Linked DNA regions of Homo sapiens: all the other regions are linked to region 2. The links are contacts of gene promoters, found by promoter capture Hi-C in blood cells and fetal thymus (Javierre and others, 2016). All regions are on one chromosome and are shown on one strand. Each heading gives the region's core, a stretch centred on a gene start or on the middle of the fragment in contact. The rest is flanking DNA. Distances are from core to core; before and after follow the strand shown.

Region 1 (3,076 bases), core at 27-2,526, 740 kb before region 2:
AGCTAATAGTGACGGTGATGGTTGTTCCAGGATATGGAATGTGAACAGAAAAAAAACCTTTTTTTCCTTTGTGTTTTTTCTTTCTTTGTGTTCCTGTGCCTGGGGCTCGGGCGTCAGGTCCAGGCCAGTTCTACAGCAGTGGAGTGGGGTAGTGTATCTGGTGGTCCTTTCTTGACTCCCCACCACAGGTCTGAGACCTCACTGAACCAGCACAGCCACAGGCAGGAGTGTTTTATGCTTACATATTTAAGGGGCCAGGGTTGGTGGGGAGAATGATCCTCCGTTTTCCTTCACCAGGATAGAAACAGTTCTCATATTCTAGGGAGTTGCCTGGATGTGTGATGACACTTAAAGAGAGTCTTTGCAACTGAAAGAAGGAATGCATCTGGTCCAGTCCCCTGCATCTTCAAAGGTTGATGCCAATGCCCTTTTAGACAAATGGACATCCATCGTACTCCTAACATATGCAGTGACAGATGCCATTACCTTTCTCTTTGGTCTGGCTCAGGGACAAATCACCCCAGCTCTCAGGAATTCTTTATATCTGAAGAAAAAAAAAAAAAACTCATCCTTCCATTGAAGCTCATTTCTTCATTTCAGATCTCAGCATCTGTTTTGGTTGTCTGTTGCTGCCTGACGATCTCAACACTTAGTGGCTTCAAACAACAACCATTTTATTTGCTCATGACTTGGAGGGTCATGCAGGGTTTAGCTGGGTGATTCTTCCATTCCATGTGGCATCAGCTGAGGTCACTCATTCAGCTGAACACACCTCATTCTGTGCTGGGATAGAATGTCGGAGAAAGCTTTTATTATATGTCTGGCACCTCAGTGCTCCTACCTTGGGCTTCCTCACAGCATGATGGTCTCATGGTAGTTGGACTTCTTATGTGATTACCAAGAAGGAGCACTCTAAGAGGGGCAAAAAAGAAGCTTCAGATCTCTTAAGGCCCAGCTCCAGAAGTTACACAATGTCACTCCACTACATTTTGTTGATCAAAGCCAGTCACAGGGTCAGCCTAGATCCAAGGGATGGGAAGTAAATGCCACCTCTTGATAGGAGGAGTGCAGAGAATCTGTGGCCATCCTTCATCCACCAGCACATCCTCTTTATAAGCTTTCACATTCCTCCTAACACTAGCTTCATCCTCTCCTAAAGCTTCCTCCCCTTGGCCTTCATCCCATGTCTCATTCTTTTCCCCAACCTTCCACTATTTGAGCTACTGACCCTTTGTTGCTTAAATCTTCGGCTCTTTTGCTCTTCTCTTTTCTTTGGCTCTCCTCCCTGCTACTTCAAAGAGCACAGCTGTGTGCAGTCCCACCCCTAACATTTGTAAGGCTGTATATGTTATGTCTAGATAGCTAACTGTTCGAAAGCAAGCTGATAAGCTTTGAAAGGAAATATGTTGTCCTTCCACTCTGACGAATATTCATTTGTAGGGAGTTTAAAAGCCAGGTTCAAATAGAGAATTCTGAGTTCTGCACCAAAATATGGGGTCTAGGGAAAGCCAGTCTCCAGTCCACCCCTGCTCTGTCCAGCACCACAAGGACACTCATGAGCACTTGGGTAGATGGGTACCCCAGCCCACACATCTGAGCTCCAAACACACCTTCTGCAAACAGTCACCTTAGCCAGTTCTAGGAATACACACAGCACAGTGTACTCTCATGAAGCAGTCAAAAAAGAGGGCCACCAGGTCCAGGAATCAGGCTGAGGAGCATTTGACCAGGGAATCTGGGGTTTTGAATATGTGGCCTTACAGGGAGAATGTCCCTTTGGTTCCCTGGACTCCTTACCTGTGAGGAGGAGCATACCTGATGGAGGATTGGAGCAGGGCCCTTCAAAGTGTGAGATCAGGATGAGGGACATTTTCCTGGGTGTAAAGACAGTGCTGAGTGTGTCTGCCCTTGTATTGGGCATTGCCTTTCACTGATGGGCTTGGACAAACCCTGCACTGCTCCATCCCTCCCATGAGGCATTTCCACTGTGAAATGAGAAAAGCAATTTTTTTCATGGTAGTTATAAGAATTCAGTGAGACAATGGATGGGAATGGGGATTTGTAAACCATAAAGTCTTATTCACAGCTCATTTTTTTATGGTTTCTTATTGTCGGATTCAGAAGCCCTGGATGTGAATGAATTTGGACTCCGCCCTTTTTGAGCTTGGATCTTGCATGAATCACTTTACATCTCTAAACTTTGGAATTTCACACACACACATATGAAAATGATGTGTGGGACAGGTGGGGATGTTTATTAGGACCTTGGTGCTGTTTCTTTTTGTTTTGTTTTTGTTTTTTGGTTTTTTTTTTTTTTTGATGGAGTCTTGCTCTGTCACTCAGGCTGGAGTGCAGTGGCACGATCTTGGCTCACTGCAGCCTCCACCTCCCGGGTTTAAGCAATTCTCCTGCCTCAGCCTCCCGAGTAGCTGGGATTACAGGCATACGCCACCAAACCCGGCTAATTTTTTTTTTATTTTTAGTAGAGACGGGGTTTCACCGTGTTAGCCGGGGTGGTCTCGATCTCCTGACCTCATGATCCGCCCGCCTCGGCCTCCCAAAGTGCTGGGATTACAGGCGTGAGCCACCGCGCCCGGCCGGTGCTGTTTCTTTTTAATTCCAAGTGGTTAAAACCTGAAGGATGGGCTGGGTGCAGTGGCTCAGCCTATAATCCCAGCATTTTGGGAGGCTGAGACGGGTGGGTCACATGAGGTCAGGAGTTCAAGACCAGCCTGGCCAACATGGTAAAACCCTGTCTCTACTGAAAATACAAAAACTAGCCAGGCATGATGGCTTGTGCCTGTAATCCCAGCTACTCAGGAGGCTAAGGCACAAGAATCACTTGAACCCGGGAAGCAGAGGTTACAGTGAGCAGAGATCATGCCACTGCACTCCAGCTTGGGTGACGGAGTGAGAATCTGTCTCAAAAAAAAAAAAAAAAAAAAGTGAAGGATGTAAGGGACCAAGAAGAGTTATCAGCAAAGAGGGAACTAGGCTGTCTGAACCAGACATAAGCCAGATGTCAGCTGGGGTAATGTTGCCTTTTAAAATACAGATGAGAAGCCTGCCCAGAATT
Region 2 (2,784 bases), core at 38-2,537:
GGCACTTGTTGCTCAGCCAAAACTGAGCGGTGAAGGATCCCATTTTTACATCCTGTTACACATGCTTCAAAGAAATGGTCAGCACAAAAAAGCCCACTCATAAGACAGTCAGTAAGCATGGTATAGCTCCTGCACATTCAGATCCCTAGAGAATGAAGAGCTGTTTTATCTCTCCAAAGTTTGCTTTTTTCTTGGTATGGTCATCGACGTTCTCCAGATGCCACAGGTTGGAGAGATAAAGGTGAGGGGCTGCCCTCAAGTGGTCTTACAGGCAGAAACTCCTAAAAGTGGATGGAGTGAAAGAACAGGAAAGGACAGTGTAAGAGCTCATTGGAGACACTTCCCAGAAGCCCAGGGGTGAAGGGCAGTGAGTGCTGGAGGCCCGTGTCAGCAGAGGGGCCAAGTGCTACCGAATGTGAATGTGGATGATCATCTTTAATGTGACCCTATGTGTTCTGTATTCCCGGTACGCGGTGCCATATTTTCCTTCAGATAAATTGAACTTAATTAACTCCCATCAGCAACACGACGCTGTCTGAGAAAAGCCATTTTATATGGAAATGTTCGTTGGGTGACGATTATCCAGTATTATTAATAGAATGAGCTCAGGGCCGTGCCCGGAGCGCCGAGGCTGCCCCGGCAGGAGTCGACGCTAACCAGCCTCCCCCATTCAGCGTCGCGAGGCGCGGGTTCCCGCTCCGTGCCAGGTGCAGAGGGCGACACCGGCGACGTGCCACTCCACTCGCCTCCCAAGGCGCCCCCTCAGATGTTTGCGAACGCACACCAAAGCGGGCTCAAGACAATTGCGCCTGAGACGCCGGGCAGGACCCTGCCCTACCCCTCAGGCTCCATTTCCTGTTCCCGCAAATGGTGATGCCATCGCTGCCCTGTCAGCCCCTCTGGGCTGTCGTGGGCCTCCAAGGAGACAAAAACGCGAAGGAGCTTTGTGAACTGTGGCGCGCAGTGCACCTGCATGAAACATGAAATTATGACTAAAAATAAAGAGTACGAGGGGGTAGGAGCGAGAGGCTGAGAGGCCCAGCGAGACAGGAGGCTGCGGGCGGAGACGCTGCGAGCGCCGCCGGGGCGGGCTGACTGGGAGGCGGCTCCGGGGCTGTCGTCCGGCCCCGCCCACCACTGATCCCCAGTGGCCCGAGGGCCCGGCCGCACCCTCTCTCCCGGCCTGCGGGCCGCTTCCCACCACAGACCCCGCCCCGCGCCCTACCCATCACGCGTCCCCGGTCCGGCTCCGGCGCTCACCTACCCCCGGCAGGCGCCGCCCCCGTGCCGTCCCTCCCGGAAGCGCCGGCGGAGCGTCCTCGCATGGAGCGCGAGCCCAGCGCCTCGGAGGCCGCCCCCGCGGCGGCCGCGCTCTTCGCCTGGGTACGTGACTCCGCCCCCGGGCCGGTGCAGGCCCTGAGGGGCGCCGAGATGTGGGAGCTGCTGGCCGCGGCGTGGGCAGTTCAGGGGCTGGGCGGCTGAGGTCCGAGCCGGGCTCTGGGTTGAAGGATCCTGGGCTGGGAGCGGAGGGGGAGCGGAGGAGGAGCGGGCGGGCGGGGAAGGAAGGGTCTTCGCGGTCGACTTAGGGGCCTGCCGGCTGGCGGGGTCAGGGCCGGAGGGGCTGTGGCGCCGCGGGAAGAACCTGCCTCGGGGCAGAGCGTCTGGTTCCGCGAGAGCCCTCCAGCCCGAATAGCGCCTGGAAGACAGCGCGGAGGGCTCGGTGGAGAGGATCGCCCGGTCCCAGAGCTCCGTGGGGCCACCTGTGCCCCCCACACTCCTGATGCCTGGAGGAGGGAGACCCTGTCCCAGCCTGGCGAAAGCATCCTTTAGATGTGAGGCCTGCGGTGTTTGGCCGCGCACAAGGCACAGACCCTGCCTATTTGCTGACACTCTGCTGTGACCGGTTCTTGCATGTGTTGGGGGAGTTGGGCTGCTGTTGGTTTGACGGGAGCATTGGGAGAGACAGGGTCATCTTGATGTGTGTCTGGGAGAGAGGAGGGTTCATGCACAGGAGCGTGGCAGGTGGCCGACCAGCATGCACGGGAACAAGCAGTCGCTGCGTCTTGTGCTTCTTCATAGCACGTATCACAATTGTAATGATGTGTATAATTTATTATTAACGTCAGTCTCTCTGGCTGGAAAGTAAGTGTGGTAAGAGTGGGTGCTGTGCCTGTCTTGTTCACGGTGCCTCTCTTGGTGTCTGGCACATTGTAGGTCCCCAGTAAATACTCGTTGACGAATGAATGAACGAGCATCTGTGTGCCTACCCATGTGCTGGTGTTGGGGAAATACACATGAGTGAAATACACGAGTGAAGGACTTCCAGCTCTTGTGTTGGGGGAGAGCAAAATTATAACCTGTATTGCTGTTAAAATCAGTATTAGTTGTCCAATTTTTAAAGAAGTAATGATCAGTACAAGGCGGCAATTGTTGAATGTGGGGCTGCAATTTGGCAGGAGGGAGAGCATGGCGTGACCTGCGGTAGTCTGGCTGGCTGGGCGTCTTTGAGGTGGCCCGGGAGCTGGGGGTGGAGTTGGGGATTGAATGTGTGCTGTCTCTGGCTTTTTCCAGGCAGGAGACTGGCGTCTGTGTGGACAGAGGAAACAGAAATATTGTTTCAGTACAGACAAAGCCGAATATTAAAGGTTGTAAAATATGTTTAATAGGTTGTTGACACCCTTCTGCTGTGTTTGGAGGACTGGTAGTGTGTTTTTCCTGCTGTATAATCTGAAACTGTGGGGGTGTGTTGGTCGGCTAGGGCTACCATAACAAAATACCACACAA
Region 3 (2,985 bases), core at 174-2,673, 510 kb before region 2:
ATATATATATATATATATATATGTAAAATTTATTTTAATATTTATAAATGTTGCATTTATAAAATATATAAATAATATATATTACCTGGCATTCCTCCAACTCACAAAGGTACAGTTGCTCTAATTAAAGGGACTCCTGGTTAAGCCGTGGCTTTAAGAACAGTTTGAAAACCTTCTTGCTTTTAAAAGACATAAAACAGCAAGTAAAATGGAAGGACAGACAGACCTCTAGTTTGGTTTGACTGGAGCTGTATGCTTAACTAAGGAGCTGAAAAACAGAGGCGGAGGTTGCAGTGAGCCGAGATGGTGCTACTGCACTCCAGCCTGGGCGATGGAGTGAGAGTGACTCAAAAAAAAAAAAAAAAGAAAAAGAAAAAGAAAAACAATACCTATTAATAGCCTTTATTTGTGCGTGTTAGCAACAGTTTATAATGATGCTTCCACATGCTTTCAGTTAGGCCCTCCTTGTGAATGTGACCTTCACTTAGACGCCAACTTTGAAGGGAATCAATACTACGGCCTTGTTCTCATTAGGGCTGTACTAAAATAATTGAAACTGTCACACATCATCAAACTCAAAATTTTACAATACCTTGAATGACACTGTGCTTACAAAACTGACGGTGATGTGTAATGATGACTAATGTAAGTCACCATGAAGAATTTTTATGGGAAGTAAAAATTCAATTAAGATGGAAGTACCTACCCTTGCATTGTGCAAGGCAATGAAGATCTGAAGGAAGCCTGCCTTCAAGGGCTTGGATTTTGACAGCGGACAGGTACACAAATACAGCACCAGGTAAAATACGGCCTGTATTATCATTTATGGGTGGGTACAGAGGAGAAATTCTGACTTACGGAATGATTTCCTGGAGAAGAAATTACTATCTGGCTTCTTGTGAAACAAAGGCTCTACACTTTACCCTTGCCAACGTATAGTATGAAGGTCTTTAAGCTTAAAAAAAATCATTAATTAGAGGACCACTGGGCATCATCTAAGGCAAGTGTATGACTTTAGAGTCGGGAGAAATTTGCGCCTGAGCTAGAAATGCACTAGCCTACCATTATCACAAGAGCAAGTCAGTGACAGAACAGTTCTCTGACCGCCAGTGCAGTGCCCTCCCACTTGATCAATCAGTCATTAAGGCTCACTGGCAAGCCCTTCGTACTTCTTCCCTCTCCGGCACTAGCTTCCTTAAGTCGACTCTGTGAAATACCTGCTAATCTTATCCTGAACCAGAGTTTCGACCCTCGGAACAGTCTTGCCCACATCTTTGGGACCCGATTCGTCCTGCTGATTCCGGCACTCGAGGGGCGGGTTGGTTGGAACCCACCCCACCAGGCCCCTCTCAATCCCACACGGTGTCCACCCTTGCCCGCAGGACGGCGGCCCGGAAGTGACGTAGTGGAAGCGGAAGTGGTGTAGTGGTGCCGACTTCCTGTTGTTTGAGGCCGGGTTGGGGGTGTGCGATTGTGTGGGACGGTCTGGGGCAGCCCAGCAGCGGCTGACCCTCTGCCTGCGGGGAAGGGAGTCGCCAGGCGGCCGTCATGGCGGTGTCGGAGAGCCAGCTCAAGAAAATGGTGTCCAAGGTGAGGCTGCGACGCGCTCGCCTCCCAGGGCGCGCCCACCGCTCCCTTCCGCGCCCTGTCGAGTCCGTCCCGGCCCAGCCAAGCAAGCTTCCCAGACGGGCCGGAAGCCCCGGTGCAGTCCTTAGCGACCTCCTCAGAACCCCGCCCCGAGGCGCCTGTCGCCTGGTGCGGGAATCCCCGTACGGGAGCTGGGAGGGTGGGGGACGGCGACAGTCAACAAAGGCGTGGAGCGGAGGCTACCTGACACCTGCCGCCCACCCGCCCTCCTCTCTTCCACTGAGTTTGGAGCTGTCTGTGGGGCAGTGTAGTTTTTCGTTTGTTTTTATAAACACAAACAAGGGATCATACTTAGTTGTAGATCTGAGGCAATCCTCTACTCCTGTCCCAATCTAGGGATCCTCCAGTCTTAGCCTTTCTTTTGCCGACCCGCAGAGAGTGTGGCCTTTTCAGTTTTGTATTCTCCAGAAAAGAAGCGAAAATACCAGTCCCTTACTGCCCCAGGTGAAATACATACCATTACCATTTCAGGGATTTTCTAAGAGTAACTACTTTTAAGTGTATGCTTCTTATAACGCGTATTTATTTGCTTTGAGCTTAATTTATGATCTTCACGGCTCAAGACTAGTGTTTTTTTTTTCAATTTTTAAAAAAGCAGTTAAGCATTTTGTATTTTAAAGCCATGATTTATTTATATAATTACTTCAAACGTGGCACCTCACACCAGAGTGGAATGGCTTTTGTTATGTTTTGTTGTAATTTTCCAAAACTATGTAAAATGATTGAGAGTTGAGTCTTGACCAGTTCAACGTGTTAGCTTGGGATAGTTTTGTCAAAGCAAGAATGGTAGCAATCAGCGGTTTAAGCGGTTTCAATTTTTAATAAAACACACTATTATGTGTAAAACTTTTTTAAAAACAGACTTTTTCCAGTTAAATCGCCCCCATAGTTCTTGATTGAAGACCAAATAATCTCTAAGGAGAAAATGACAGCTTTCAAAATAAAGCATATATTGGTTGTGTAATCGTATATTTTAGGCTTCTTGGTTTTGTTTTGATAAACTTGTTATCCTTAGTTATAGAAGACATATGGGAAGCCATAGAAGATTGTGACCCAGGTAAAGATCCATGTTGTAACTTTTATATATCACTTTTTGAAAAAAACGGTATATTGTTTTACATAGTATGTAACTGAAGAGTATCTGTTCCATGACTCTTTTTTTTTTTTTTTTTTTTTTAGAGTCTTGCTCTGTCACCCAGGCTGGAGTGCAGTGGCACGATCTTGGCTCACTGCAATCTCCGCCTCCCAGGTTCAAGCGATTCTCCTGCCTTAGCCTCCCAAGTAGCTGGGGATTACAGGTGCCCACCACTTCACACAGCTGATTGTTGTATTTTTAGT

What was found. The method cuts DNA at HindIII sites, captures the fragments that hold promoters and counts their contacts. A CHiCAGO score of 5 or more calls a contact.
Region 1: a contact is called between a fragment that was not itself captured here and the fragment with the promoter of SERGEF in region 2, in 3 of 17 cell types (total CD4 T cells, total CD8 T cells and naive CD4 T cells). The highest score is 6.4, in total CD4 T cells.
Region 3: a contact is called between the fragment with the promoter of TSG101 here and the fragment with the promoter of SERGEF in region 2, in 8 of 17 cell types (total B cells, naive CD4 T cells, total CD4 T cells and 5 more). The highest score is 15.8, in total B cells.

The regions. Positions count from the first base shown.
Region 1 is chr11:18,756,164-18,759,239 of GRCh38, reverse strand. The region is part of intron 3 of PTPN5 (protein tyrosine phosphatase non-receptor type 5); the gene reads left to right. Among named protein-coding and RNA genes, the nearest start is that of IGSF22, 32 kb to the right of the region's middle. The HindIII fragment of the contact is 230 bases long and covers 1,162-1,391 here.
Region 2 is chr11:18,011,550-18,014,333 of GRCh38, reverse strand. It overlaps SERGEF (secretion regulating guanine nucleotide exchange factor), which reads left to right and starts at 1,287. Exons shown (of 11, transcript NM_012139.4): 1 at 1,287-1,383. The coding sequence starts at 1,324. RefSeq lists enhancers at 570-619, 1,978-2,494, 2,495-2,784 and a silencer at 1,000-1,619. The HindIII fragment of the contact is 12,002 bases long and covers 1-2,784 here.
Region 3 is chr11:18,525,380-18,528,364 of GRCh38, reverse strand. TSG101 (tumor susceptibility 101) reads left to right here and starts at 1,423. Exons shown (of 10, transcript NM_006292.4): 1 at 1,423-1,590. The coding sequence starts at 1,549. RefSeq lists an enhancer at 1,154-1,263. The HindIII fragment of the contact is 722 bases long and covers 958-1,679 here.